Regions from separate parts of the Homo sapiens genome. Here regions 1, 2, 3 and 5 are each linked to region 4. Evidence: promoter capture Hi-C in 16 types of primary human blood cells and fetal thymus (Javierre and others, 2016). All regions are on one chromosome and are shown on one strand. Each heading gives the region's core, a stretch centred on a gene start or on the middle of the fragment in contact. The rest is flanking DNA. Distances are from core to core; before and after follow the strand shown.

What was found. Contacts are between HindIII fragments. The CHiCAGO score rates a contact against its expected background, and 5 or more counts as called.
Region 1: a fragment that was not itself captured here is called in contact with the fragment with the promoter of CITED1 in region 4 in 5 of 17 cell types (megakaryocytes, endothelial precursors, M1 macrophages and 2 more); the score reaches 9.6 in megakaryocytes.
Region 2: a fragment that was not itself captured here is called in contact with the fragment with the promoter of CITED1 in region 4 in 1 of 17 cell types (megakaryocytes); the score reaches 5.8 in megakaryocytes.
Region 3: a fragment that was not itself captured here is called in contact with the fragment with the promoter of CITED1 in region 4 in 1 of 17 cell types (M1 macrophages); the score reaches 5.5 in M1 macrophages.
Region 5: a contact is called between a fragment that was not itself captured here and the fragment with the promoter of CITED1 in region 4, in 1 of 17 cell types (megakaryocytes). The highest score is 5.5, in megakaryocytes.

The regions. Positions count from the first base shown.
Region 1 is chrX:72,515,048-72,517,747 of GRCh38, forward strand. All of the region lies in intron 4 of HDAC8 (histone deacetylase 8), which reads right to left. Among named protein-coding and RNA genes, the nearest start is that of HDAC8, 56 kb to the right of the region's middle. The HindIII fragment of the contact is 1,195 bases long and covers 705-1,899 here.
Region 2 is chrX:72,497,590-72,500,289 of GRCh38, forward strand. The region is part of intron 4 of HDAC8 (histone deacetylase 8); the gene reads right to left. Among named protein-coding and RNA genes, the nearest start is that of HDAC8, 74 kb to the right of the region's middle. The HindIII fragment of the contact is 4,771 bases long and covers 1-2,700 here.
Region 3 is chrX:72,479,912-72,482,611 of GRCh38, forward strand. All of the region lies in intron 7 of HDAC8 (histone deacetylase 8), which reads right to left. Among named protein-coding and RNA genes, the nearest start is that of HDAC8, 92 kb to the right of the region's middle. The HindIII fragment of the contact is 7,840 bases long and covers 1-2,700 here.
Region 4 is chrX:72,304,523-72,307,222 of GRCh38, forward strand. It overlaps CITED1 (Cbp/p300 interacting transactivator with Glu/Asp rich carboxy-terminal domain 1), which reads right to left and starts at 1,392. Exons shown (of 3, transcript NM_001144887.2): 1 at 1,303-1,392. It overlaps LOC105373250 (a long non-coding RNA gene), which reads left to right and starts at 1,580. Exons shown (of 3, transcript XR_938441.2): 1 at 1,580-1,698. RefSeq lists a silencer at 2,377-2,671 and an enhancer at 2,398-2,447. The HindIII fragment of the contact is 8,247 bases long and covers 1-2,700 here.
Region 5 is chrX:72,456,993-72,459,692 of GRCh38, forward strand. All of the region lies in intron 9 of HDAC8 (histone deacetylase 8), which reads right to left. Among named protein-coding and RNA genes, the nearest start is that of HDAC8, 110 kb to the right of the region's middle. The HindIII fragment of the contact is 5,146 bases long and covers 1-2,700 here.

The DNA of each region.
Region 1 (2,700 bases), core at 52-2,551, 210 kb after region 4:
TTTGTGATGAGAAGACTTAAGATCTACTCTCTTGGCAGATTTCAAGTATACAATAAAGTTATTATTATAGCCACATTGTTGTACATTAGCTTTCCAGAACGTATTCATCTTGTGTACCTGAAACTGTATCCCCTGACCAACATCTCCCCATTTCCCCCTTCTCTACCCCTGGTAACCGCCATTCTTTTCTCTGTTTTTGAGTCTGACCTTTTTAGATTTCACATATAAGTGAAATCACGTGGTACTGATTTAGCTCATTTAGCCTAATGCCCTCCAGGTTTATTCATCTTGTCACAAATGGTAGGACTTCCTTCTTTTTCAAGGCTGAATAATATTCCATTGTGAATATATACTACATTTAAGAAATAATCTTGAGGAAAACTGGGCTTACTTAACAGCAGGGCATGGATAACAAGAAGCCCCTTCCCTTCCTTCCTCCCTCAACATGCAAATTTGTATTGAGTACTCTGTTCTACACTCTGGGAATAATGATGAACAGGACAGATAATACCTCATTCTCAAGGATCTTTCAGTGTGTGTGGGGGGGGGGTGGGGGGGAAGTATGTGGAACAGATGATAAATAGGTAAGCAAACAACCAAATAAGAAAACAGCCCTATTGTGACAAGCAATGTTGCAAAGATAACACACAGGAATGTGATAGAGCAGTGGGGTGTGTAGGGCTTAGATAGGTCAGTCCAGTGAAAGCTTCTCTGAGGAGGTAGCATTTAAATAGAGACCCAAAAGGTGAAAAGAAACTCATCCATACTGAGATGGAGAAGTCTTCAGGACTTTTTGGACATACTTAATGAAAAGTTCACTGGTCTATCACTTTTTAAAAGTGCAGAGGGACTAGCACTGCAAAAGGTCTGAGGCAGGAAAAAACTTCCCTGGTCTGAGAAGCTGAAAGGCAGCCAGTATGGCTGAAACACAGGTAATGAAGGACAGGGGTACAAGAAGCTGTCTGATGGGACATCACAGGGGCTTGTAGGCCACTGCAAGGAGTTTGGATTTTACTTTCAGTGAGATGAGAAGCCATTGGAGGGTTCTGAGCAGAGAAGGGATGAGATCTGATGTAAACTATCTTTTAGTCTATCATTAGTACCAGGCAGAATGGGCTAAACTGCATCAGGAGAAATTTATTAACAGTAAGACAGGAAATTTGCGAGACAGAATTGTTGCCAAGAAAGGTTAATGAGTTTAGTTTAATGGTATAAAGCTAATTTCTTGGTGTGACTTAACAAGTAGCCAGAAAGAGCTTCTTTAGCTTTCTTAAGGTTGTCAACTTTGGCAATTTACCTGTAGTGTCACAGTCACCGGGAAAGCTGAGGCTCATATTTAAATCTTCTGATTCTTGTTTTTTTTTTTCACTAAGTTAATTGCATCTAATTGTTTACAGCAAAGCAGTAAAAGATGGCAAAAAGTAGAAATACAGCATTCCCTTTCTTAAGGGCTTCTGAAAATTCCATCTTTCTCTGTAAGAACCTGCCTGAGTACTTACGAGTTTAGCATGTTTAGTTTCCTCTTAGCATCTGACCCCTTTCTGCCATTTTCTCTGCTTTCAAAGCTAGGACAGCCAAGTGCTTTTGGAAAAAAACCCACAAAACTATAACTGCAGACACACATTAAACACTTATGGTTCCCATCACAGGTGGGCCTTCAAGGATGTTCAGCACTTCTTCTAATTGTCTTTTTCTCATTCATTACAGTGGACATTATAAACTTACTAAGAACAAAGACTCCTTGCTTAAAATTCCGTCGCATTTAGAATAAAATCCAAAGCCCCATGGTCCATAAGGCCTTGTATGATGTGGCCTATGGCAACTTCTCTGTCCTCTTGTGCCACTGTCCAAATTACTCACTTTGCTCCAGGCACACTGGCTTTCTTGTTGTTCCTCAGAAGCTTCTAATGGATAATGGCGTGCATTTGCAGTTATATGGTTTGCTTTTGAGGAACTGCCAAACTGCTTTCCAAAGTGGCTACACCATTCTACAGTCCCACCAGCAATGTATGAGGATTCTAATTTCTCCATGCCTTCATGTACATTTGTTATTATCTGACCTTTTGATTCTAGCCATCTTAGTGAAGTGGCATCTCATTGTGGTTTTAATTTGCATTTTTCTAATGACTAATGATGTTGAGCATCTTTTCAAGTGCTTATTGGCCATTTATATTTTTTTTTGGATAAACATCTATTCAAATCTTCTGCCTATATTTGAATTAGGTTATTTGTCTTTTCATCATTGAGTTGTAAGAATTATTTATATATTCTGGACACATCTCTGATCAGAAATATAATTTGCAAATGCTTTTTCCCATTCTATTGGTTGTATTTTCACTTTCTTGATGTTTTTCTCACTTTCTTTGAAGCCCAAAAGCTTTTAGTTTTGATGGTCAATTTATCTATATTTTCTTTTTTTTTGTACTTTCTGTGACATATCTGAGAAAGCTTTGCCTCACCCAAGGTCATGAAGACTTACTCCTATGCTTTCTTGTAAGACTTTCACAGTTTTAGCTCTTACATTTTGGCCTATGATCCATTTGGAATTCATTTTTATGTATGGCTTGAGGTAGGGATTGAAATTCATTCTTTTGCATGTAGATCCTAGTACCATTTGTGGAAAAGACTGTTCTTCCCTTATGAATTGTCTTAGTACTTTTGTTGAAAGTCAGTTGATCATAAATGTGAGGGTTTATTTCT
Region 2 (2,700 bases), core at 112-2,611, 190 kb after region 4:
CTTGAGTATATTCTTCCTCAACATAGACAGGTTTACTGATTGAATGAGCTAACATTACTTCTCCTAAGTGTTTACGATTATAAAAAATGTAAATTTGTTTAACCAAGTTGAGTCGTTATTCTGACAAACTTTATTTCAACAGTAATTATGTTTTGCAGTATATCAACTTGAAGATAATTTATAAAATCTTTAGGTAACTAAAAACTTTGAGCTGATACTAAATTGAATTAATGAATATTCATTACATACCTAGACCATTTCTAAGTAAGAGAATGCTGAAATATTAATTACTACATATAATTTTGTATGCTTTTGCTTCTTATTTCTACATGCTGCAGAAAAGTTATGTATACTTGGGCCTGGTAATGAACATGCTATTTTTTGCCAATTAAAGAAGTTGTTATAAAGGATGCATATAGATATAGAAAGTTGTAGAGGGATCACAGAAAGGGAATTTTATTTGTTGAGGTGGCTGGCTAAGGTTTGATGAGTTGATTTACAATATTTCCAAAAAGAACTTTAGTATCAAATATTCTGATGCAAAGCTAGAATTTGGTTTCCTCACTGTTAAAATGGCAAAAAAAAAAAAAAAAAAGATTTGTTCTTTCACCTTATTGAAAGAGAAGTGCTAGAAAGAATTAGATTTATTCAATATATTACTATTGAGGAGTTGCATGGGAAGAGTTGTCAAATCAGAACAGATGCTTTGCTTTTTCTAGGTTAAATTGGTATAGGAAAATGTTATTAGCATAAACATTTTAGAAATTGTATGCTGTATGGAACGTTTCTACAGATTCATTAGTGCTCTCACTGGCCGAGATATGTCAGAATCCTGATGCTGCTTTGCTAGATATTAGATAACTATAGTATAGTGTTTTCAGTAATAATTTCAGCTTTTTAAAATGTTAACTTGGTCTCCACATTGCTTCTTTGTTTTGAATCTAGCATTTTTCCAGTCATTAGTTTTCAACTGGGGATTCACATCATTTACCTATGAAATTCTGTTAATATACACATGTTTAAGAACTATTCCAGATTACTGAATCTCTTTACTTGATGTTCTTGATATATTCTGGGTATATTCAACCTATATGCTTGGTATATTGATGATATATTATGTCAGGATTATTATATGTTATATCTGAGTCTTTTTTCTCTATAAAGATGATGTTCATGCATTTTTATAAATTACATATAATACCCTCTCTTCTTTGAAAATAGGATTTCTACAGTTTGGATATTTGGCCTTCCAAGCCTCATGTTGAAATTTGATCCCCAGTGTTGGAGGTGGGGCCTAGTGGGAAGTGTTGGGTCATGGGGGTGTATCCCTTACAAATGGCTTGGTTGTGATCTCACAGTAATGAGTGAGTTCTCACTCTATTAGTTACTGCTAGAGTTCCCCTGGGAGCTGGTTGTTAAAAAGAGCCTGACACCTTCTCCCTCTCTCTTGCTTCCTCTCTCACCATGTGATTTGCACATGTGGCTTCCCTTTACCTTCTGTCATAAGTGGAGGCAGCCTGAAGCCCTCACCAGAAGCAGATACTGGCACCATGCTTCTTGTACAGACTGAAGAGCTGTAAGCCAAATACCTCTTTTCTTTATAAATTACCCAGACTCAGGTATTCCTTTAAAAGAACACAGATGTACTAAGACAAGGGCTAATCATTATGTATATAGACATTTTTGTCTGGATCTGATAGACCTCTACAGAACTCTCCACCCAAAAACAACAAAATATACACTCTTCTCATTGCCACATAGCACTTACTCTAAAATCAACCACATAATTGGACATAAAGCAATCCCTAGCAAGCGCAAAATAACTGAAATCATACCACCAAATACACTCTTGGGACACAGCACAGTAAAAATAGAAGTCAAGACTGAGAAAATCACTCAAAGCCATGCAACAAAATAATTACATGGAAACTAAACAACATGCTCCTGAATAACTTTTGAGTAAATAATAAAATTAAGGCAAAAATCAAGAAGTTATTTGAAACTAATAAGAAAATAGATACAATACACCAGAATCTCTGGGAAGCAGCTAAGGCAGTGTTAAGAGGGAAACTCCTAGCACTAAATGCCCACATCAAAAAGGTAGAAAGATCTCAAATTAATAACTTAACATTGCAACTGAATTAGAGAAGCAAGAACAAATCAACCCCAAAGCTAGCATAAGACAAGCAAAATCAGAGCTGAACTGAAGGAAATTGAGACATGAAAAACCTTTCAAAAGATTGATGAATGCAAAAGTTAGATTTTTGAAAAAATTAATAAGATAGGCCGCTAGCTAGACTAATAAAGAAGAAAAGAAAGAAGATCCAAATAAACACAATTAGAAATGATGAAGGGAATGTTACCACTGGCCCCACAGAAGCAAAAATAACCAGCAGAATCTATGATGAACACTCTATGCACACAAACTAGAAAACCCAGAAGAGATGGATAAATTCCTGGACATATACACCCTCCTAAGACTGAACCAGGGAGAAACTGATACCCTAAACAGACCAATAATGAGCTCCAGAATTGAATCAGTAATAAATAGCTTTACCAACTAAAAAAAGCCTGGCACTTGATAGATTCACAGCCAAATTCTACCAGATGTATAAAGAAAGCTGGTAGTATTCCTACTGAAACTATTCCAAAAAATTTAGGAGGAGGGACTCTTCCTCGACTCATTCTATGAGAGCAGCA
Region 3 (2,700 bases), core at 192-2,691, 180 kb after region 4:
AGTATCTCCCTCTTCCTAATTATCCTACATTCTGACACACTTAGTGCCTCTTGAATTTAATATTTTAAAAGACACATCAAAGTAGGAACAATAAATGAATGGCTCACTTTGGCCTCATTTCCACCTGTGGCTAATATTAACAGTAACTTTAATTAGTGTCTGAGTCATCCATTTTCCAGAACAACAGGTAATTTTACATCTGCCATACCCCGGAGAGGCAGGATAAAAGTTTATTAAATAGAACAAAAGCATTTAACACAAATACCTTACTTACAGAGGGCTGAGTTCAAAGTGCAAGGCTTATAGAATGAATTAGCAGCTTCTGTTACCTTAATCACTGGGCGACAGTGAGCTAGTGATTATCAAGGTAGTGTAGCTGTGACCCAACTGAAGAGAGGTAGAATAAGTTTGTAAAGAATTTTTTATCAGTTCTTAGATTGTAATGAAATGGGGAATGTATTAGCTTGTGCTCATGCTGCTGTAAAGTCAGGAAACAACAGATGCTGGTGAGGCTGTGCAGAAGTAGAAATGCTTTTACACTGTTGGTGGGAGTGTAAATTAGTTCAACCATTGTGGAAGACAGTGTTGCGATTCCTCAAGGATCTACCAGAAATACCATCTGACCCAGCAATCCCATTACTGGGTATATACCCAAAGGAATATAAGTCATTCTACTATAAAGACACATGCACATGTATGTTTATTGCAGCACTATTTACAATAGCAGACTTGGAACCAACCCAAATGCCCATCAATGATAGACTGGATAAAGAAAATGTGGCATATATATACCATGGAATACTATGCAGCCATAAAAATGAAAGAGTTCATGTCCTTTGCAGGGACATGGATGAAGCTGGAAGCCATCATTCTCAGAAAACTAACACTGGAACAGAAAACCAAACACTGCATGTTCTTCCTCATAAGTGAGAGCTGAACAATGAGAACACATGGACACAGGGAGGGGAAACTCACACACTGGGGCTTGTCAGGGGGTGGGGAGCCAGGGGAGGGAGAGCCTTAGGACAAATACCTAATGCATATGGGGCTTAAAACCTAGATGATGGGTTGATAGGTGCAGCAAACCACCATGGCACATATATAACTATGTAACAAACCTGCACGTTCTGCACATATATCCTAGAACTTAAAGTAAAAAAAAAAAAGACTAGGTAATTTATAGAGGTTCTGCAGGGCTGGGGAAGCCTCAGGAAACTTACAATCATGGCAGAAGGGGAAGCAAAGATGTCCTTCTTCACATGGCGGCAGGAGGAAGGGCAGAGTGAAGGGGGGAAAGCCCCTTATAAAACTATCAGATCTCATGAGAACTCACTATCATGAGAACAGCATGAGGGAATTGCCCCTATGATCTAATCACCTCCCATGATTCCCTCCCCCAAAACGTGGGGATTACAATTTGGATTACAATTCAAGATGAGATTTGGGTGGGGACACAAAGCTAGACCATATCAGGGATGAAGATGGAAGGCTAAATAATTACTTGTTCTCACATGCAAATTTCTAGAGGGTTCATCCCTTCTCATCAAATGAAAGAGAATTTTAAAAAATTTGTATCGCTTAAAATAGTTATTTATGAATATGTGTGTGTATGCATTGCTTTTGCCACATCACCAGGCCTAAAGGAGTAAATTACACTTTTTCGGCTCTCTTTCACTGAAGATCTACCTGCTTCCTTTTTTTTTTGTTGTTGAGACAGAGTCTCACTCTGTCATACAAGCTAGAGTACAGTGGCACAATTTCAGCTCACTGCAACCTCTATCTCCCAGGTTCAAGTGATTCTCCTGCCTCAGCCTCCTAAGTAGCTGGGATTATAGGTGCGCACCTATAATCCCACACCTAGCTAATTTTTGTACTTTTAGTAGAGACGGGGTTTTATTATGTTGGCCAGGCTGGTCTTGAACCCCTAGCCTCAATCAATCTGCTCACCTTGGCCTCCCAAAGTGCTGGGATTACAGCTGTGAGCCACCTGTGCCCAGCCCTACCTGCTTCTAAAATTGAATGATAACCTGGAGTCCCAGGTGGAAGATAAATTCTAGATGACTTATTATAATGAAAGAAAAACCTATCATAATTAAAACATCTCTTCTTTAAATATTAACAGTAAGTCAATAGTGAAAGGAAACACTTCCCTTAAATGCCCTTTAGTGATGTCCCTTGGTCCTCATTTTATTCAACTGGTACTGGTTGAACAGCTTAGCATGGATGGAGAATCTCTACCCTTTATGCAGATATGGCCTTCCACAAGGACCAAGAGGTGGTATAAATTTTGCCTATAGTTTAAAAATGCATGATGTTAAAAATTTTTAGCTATACTCATCTAAAACAACCACATGAAAAAGATGTAATTCCATGAGAAGACCTCTGTAAAATGACAGGGGACACTATTCACTTTCTAAAGTAGGAAGTCAGGATTTTCTCCATTGAAAATGAAGGGAAAGGTGGTTTTACAGAATCTGCATGTTTACAAACTTTAGGAATTGAAAACCTAAGAAGTTAATTCTGGCAATATTTATCCTTGTTTTCTATCTATAAAATTACAAATTAAATCCTTGAGATTAAACAATTCTTTTTTGGGCAAAAATCTAAGTTGCACTTACACAAACAAATACAATGGATTGCATATACTGTGGATCATGTGGTTCATTTGCATAGTTAAATGGTTTCTATTTTGGGGGGGGG
Region 4 (2,700 bases), core at 142-2,641:
TCCTGTCCTAAGAAAAATGTCTGGGGGCCCTGTCCATCTTTTCCTGTTCCTATCCAGCCTTCCCTCTCCTTTTTGCCGCTTGGTACCCGAATGTACAAAACGAAGAAAAAACAACAGGAGCAGCAGCAACAACAGCAAAACCAAAAGAGAAACATTAGAAAAATCAAAAGAGAGAACGAGCAAAAAAACTCTCTCTATTCTGATATCAGTTCGTGGGGGAAGACCATTTTACCGCGCCTCCCTCTTCAATCTGGGAGCTCCCCCAGAAGAGGCCCTGTGTCCATTCAGATCTTCTGCCTTCCATTACTGACCCACCACCCACCCTGACCCCAGCCTGGGTCTGCGCTCAATAGGCGCTCAGTAAGTGTTGTTGAATGCGTCTGAAGAAGCAATCGCATTTCCATCGGCATCCCTGGCTCTGCTTCCCCGGCTTTCTGCCCTCCTCCACCACCCTCTAGCCCGTTCGTGGGCAAAACTTGGCAACGCGGAAACGTCCCAGCCCGCTCTCCAAGCCGCGAGCTGACCACTGCGAAACGGCTGCGACAGGCGGCTGGGAAACCTAGAGCAACAAGTGCCTTCTCGCCGGCTGATGCCTGGCGGCCCCCCGGCCACCAGTTCCCAGTCCCGCTGCCCGCTCTTCGCTTCAGGCCTTCCCTTGGGCGAGCAGCCCCCTCCCGCCTAGACAGGGGTGGGAAGGGGAGAGGGAAAAGAGAAGGGAGAGGCAGGTGGGGGCCTCATCTTTAACCTGTTGGGGGACCAAAAGTTAAAATGGCACCAACCGGATGGTTCCATCTCGATTGCTATTTTCTCACTCAGAAGGAGAAATTTAAAAATCCAAACAGCACTGCGGCTTGGCTTGGACGCGCTCTAACCAGACCAGTCAGTTTCGCCACCTGAAAACTAAAGGCCCGTTGTTTGCGGACAGCTCGGCTGCCCTCCTCGCCGCATCCCAGATGGAGCCGCGGAACCGGGGGCGGCCGGGAGCATCCCTTGCACGGCGGGCGCGTGCACCCAGGCCACCGGGGCCCTGAGCGTCCGTTCCCGCAAGTGCTGTATCAGGAACTGATCTTAGAGACAGGATGGACAGGCAGGAAGGGGCACGGGGTGTCGGCCTCCGCGGCGAGTCCGCACTCCGGCGCCGGCTGCTGCCACTCTCGCGCCTGATCAACACTTACTGAGCGCCCGCTGAGCATCCGACGCGGCAGCAGGCTGAGCCTACCCCCTAGCCAAGCCGCCTGCGGTCAGTGCTAAAACCCCGCTAGGAGAAGAGTGAGAGAGGCTCGGAGAGGTGCGGTAACTTGCCCAAGGTCACAGCGCTAGAAAGTGGCGGAGCCGGGATTCGCAGCCAGGTCTCTCTGACTCCAAGTCCGGTGCTCTGCGAAGCAGGGACTCGGCGCGCGGCTCGCCAGCCCGCGTTTATAGGGAGAGGGGTGTGCGCGTGGGTGTGTGTGTGTGGGCGTGTGTCGGGGGAGGGGAGGGCTGAGGTCGACTGGGCAGTAGAGGCAAGTTGCCCAAATTCGCTAACTTCCATCCCGCAATTCCGCTGAACTCGGCCCGAAAAGCCCCCTCTTGCCTCAATTCCCCGAAGTAAATCTGAGCTTTGTGCAGCTCCGGAGCCAGAGCGTCCAGATGCGGTCCGGGAGATTAGCAAAGTCGGTGGAAGCCAAGCTGGAGAAAGCGCGGGCGCAGGGAGAAAAGGTGCTGCCGTCTCCCCGGGAGAAGCGGGCACCCGGCCCCGCTGGCCGGCAGGGGGGCGCGCTGGCAAGCGAACCCGAGCGCTGGCGGGCGGGCGGGCGGGCGGCCCCTCGCCCCCAGCAGAGCAGCTTTCCAACAGAAAGCAAGTCTCCCCAGAACCCTCCGGCCCGCCTGGCGGCCGCCCACTCCCCATACCCGCTCCACGGGAGTCCTCGGCCCCGCCGCCCAGCCCGGCGCCCAGCCCGGCGGCCCGGCTTACCTCTGAGAAGCCGCCTGCCCTGGAGAGAGGGAAGCGCGGAGCTCGGTGAGCCGCAAGAGAGGCGGCGGAGCCCCCAGCCCCTGGCACGCACGCCGCCGCCACCGCTACCGCGAACCGGTCGCGCTCAGCGCCCGCGGCCGCGCCGTTGGCCACCCGACCCCGGGGCGCCTGGGAAAAGCCCGCACCGCGCCGCGCCGCCGCTGCACCGCACAGTGCCGCGCCAAGCAGCCCCTGACCGAGCTGGTGCCCGCCCGCCCGCCCGCAGCTTCGGCGCCGGACTCCGGGGCGGTGGCGGTGGCGGCCACCGCGCTCCCTTCCCGGCGCTGGGGACCCGGCTCTCAAGCCCCCATTGCCGCCCGGAGAGCCCTGACGCACACGCACACGGCAGCAGACTGGCCTCGGCTAGGAATCCCAGGAAGGACAGACCCTTTTTTTCCCTTTTTTTTTCTCCCCTCAATTTCCACGTCTTTATAACCGGCTTAGGGCATTATTAGCACATGTCCTGGCTCGTGGGCGAGTTGGTGGCAAAATCTGAACTGGATACTCACGGAGGGCCCGCGCGGGTGCTGTGCCGTCCGCTGCTCTCTTCCTCCTCACCGAGAACTGCCCCTCGCCGGCGGACTACAAGAGGGCAGCCGGGCAGAGCGAGCTTCCTCTCGGCAGCTCAGCGGTGCCCCTTCTGCAGCTTTGCCGCCGGGCACATTTTTATAGCAGCGGCTGGCGTCTGTGGCCCTTTAAAGGCGCTC
Region 5 (2,700 bases), core at 42-2,541, 150 kb after region 4:
GCAATACATAAAAAGGATAATATAACATGACCAAGCAGGGTTTATTCCAGGAATGCAAAGTCAGTTTAACATTAAAAAATCAGTGCAATTTACTGTACTAACAATAAAGGAGGATACCATATGATCATTTCAATAGATGAAGAAAAACATTTGACAAAATCAGTACTCATTTGTGAGAAAAAAAAAAGTCTCAGTAAATTAGGAATAGAAGGGAACTTCCTCAACCTAAAAAAGAACATTTTTGAAAAATCCTACAGCTAATATCACACTTCATAGTGAAGATTAAGCACTTTCCCCCTGTGACTGGGGACCAGATAAAGATATTCACACACCATTTCCACTCAGCATTGCACTGGAGGTCCCAACCAGTGAAAAAGGTGAGAAAAAGAAATAAAAGACATGAAGATTATACAGAAAGAAAATTCTCTTTATTCACAGATGATGTTTGCATACATGGATTATGCTAAGCAATCTACAAAAAAGTTACTAGAGCTAATAAGTAAATTTAGCAAGGTTACATTATTCAAGATCAATATGAAAAGTCAATTGTCCTTCAATATTCTGGCAACAAACTATTGGAAATTGAAATGAAAATACCATTTACATAGGATCAAAATAATGAAATACAGTACTTAGGGATAAATTCAATAATATTTGTGTAAGATGTGTTTACTGGAGAGTACAGATTATAATTTGGAATTAAAGAAGACTCAAGTAAATAGAAAGATAAATTCATGGCTTAAAAGATTAAATATTGTTATGATGTTACTCCTGCACAAATCAATCTATAGATTCAGTGCCATCTACAGGTTACAGTGCAAGAAGGCTGTTTTTTTATTAGTAACATATACTTGTATATAAATTGACCTAATTCTTTTTAATGGCTACATATGTTCCCTAATATGAATGAGGTACAGTTTAATCAGTCCATAAAAAGCAGTCTGGTTAAGTAGTGTTAATATTTTCCATTAGTAAACCTATGTGATGATACACATATACATACACACACACACACACACACCCCAGCCCTACTCTATCCTAGATAAGTCACGGGATCTAAATAGTAGTACTGGACTATAGAACATTTTTATACATAATAATCCATGTGATTGTGCTAAATTTGCCATGTACTGGTCTTTTCATGGTACCATGACACCTTTGGGCTTTCCCTATGGTAGAGATATCTGGGCCAATCATACATACAAGCTCCATTCTTCTCAGCTTTCCCAGCTGGGACTGCTTGGCTGGCCAACCTGGCTCCCCAGTGCTCTGGCTGAAACTAACTTCCTCATCACTGGCTTTATGCCATCACTGGCCTTATGGCATCACTGGCTTTATGGTATCACCGGTTTTATATTTTATGAGCGCTATACTTGAAGTCCTACCCTTATCACTTCTAATATTTGTGCTGGGCTTCTGCCTTCTGAACTCCATTCCCTGCATTGGTAATATAATGTTCTCCCATGGATACACCTGTTTCCTATAGCTGGGCTACCTGATACCTCTTGCAAAGGATGGAAAGTTGCTATTAAGGTTAAATTGGGTTCCCAGAGAAAGGCTAGATTACGCTTCCAATTCTTTCATCTTAAAAAAATAGAAGTTTCCCAATATGAATATTGAGACACTTACTCAAACACTCATTTATTCAACTAGGTGGTGGCTACTTAACACTCAGCTAAGCACTAGGGTTGGGGGCGTGGTGCAGACAACCAAAACAATGATGACCAAATGAATGGCACAGACTGTAAGTGTTATAGGTATATATTTGAATCTCTTAACAGGTCTGCGTTTCTCAAGTCTCTCCTCTTTGCAATCTATCTCTACCAACTGAGCTTTTTAAAAGTTAAAGCTCATTTGTTTTCACAGAAAAAAGTGTAAGCTCTTTAATGTAGCATTCAGGGCTCTTCATAATCTGGCCTTAACTTCCATTCAAGCCTTAATCCTTCCTACTGTCTCTCATATACCCTGTAATCTACACATAGCAAATTTTTCACTGGTCCCATGAGGCACCAGTCCCTTTCTGATCTTTGTTCCCTCTGCCTAGAATGCCTTTTTCTTCTTCTTCACCTAGCGAACTCCTAATCAGCCTCTAAGAGTCAGTTCAAAGTCTTGTTGAAACATATCCCCTATGGTCCTCATCTGTCCTGGATGTGAGCACATTGTTCTGTCACCTTTATTAGATCGTGAGATTTTGGAGGGCACTGGGATTATCTCATTAGTCTTTGTATCTCTGAATCCAGGTCTCAATAAGGCCTGGCAAATAGTAGGGGCCCAACACATAATTGTTAAATGAAACAAGGAATAAATGAACGTGAAGGAAGAGCTCAAAGGGGATTGATGTATTTAGGTAAGGGTTTTTGAAGGGCACAGGACTTGAAGCTGGACCTAGGAAGATAATAGAGAAGTAGGGAACGGGCATTTGGAGGAGGAGGATTATTACCCTAGGAGATGAAAGAACTAAAGCCCAAGACTGAGAGCGAAGAGAGTGAGGTCAGCCCGGCTGCAACTGACCACTGCATTATCTTGACCTTTTCACCTACTAGATTTCTTGATTATATTTTCAGCTCATGGAGGGCAGGGTATTTTATGTACTCCTTTGTATCCCCTTTATATTTGATGCACATCTCCACAGTCACTCTTCCTACTGTCTTATTCTTTTTCTGCTCTGTATTATAACTATCTGTGCATTTGCATGTCTCC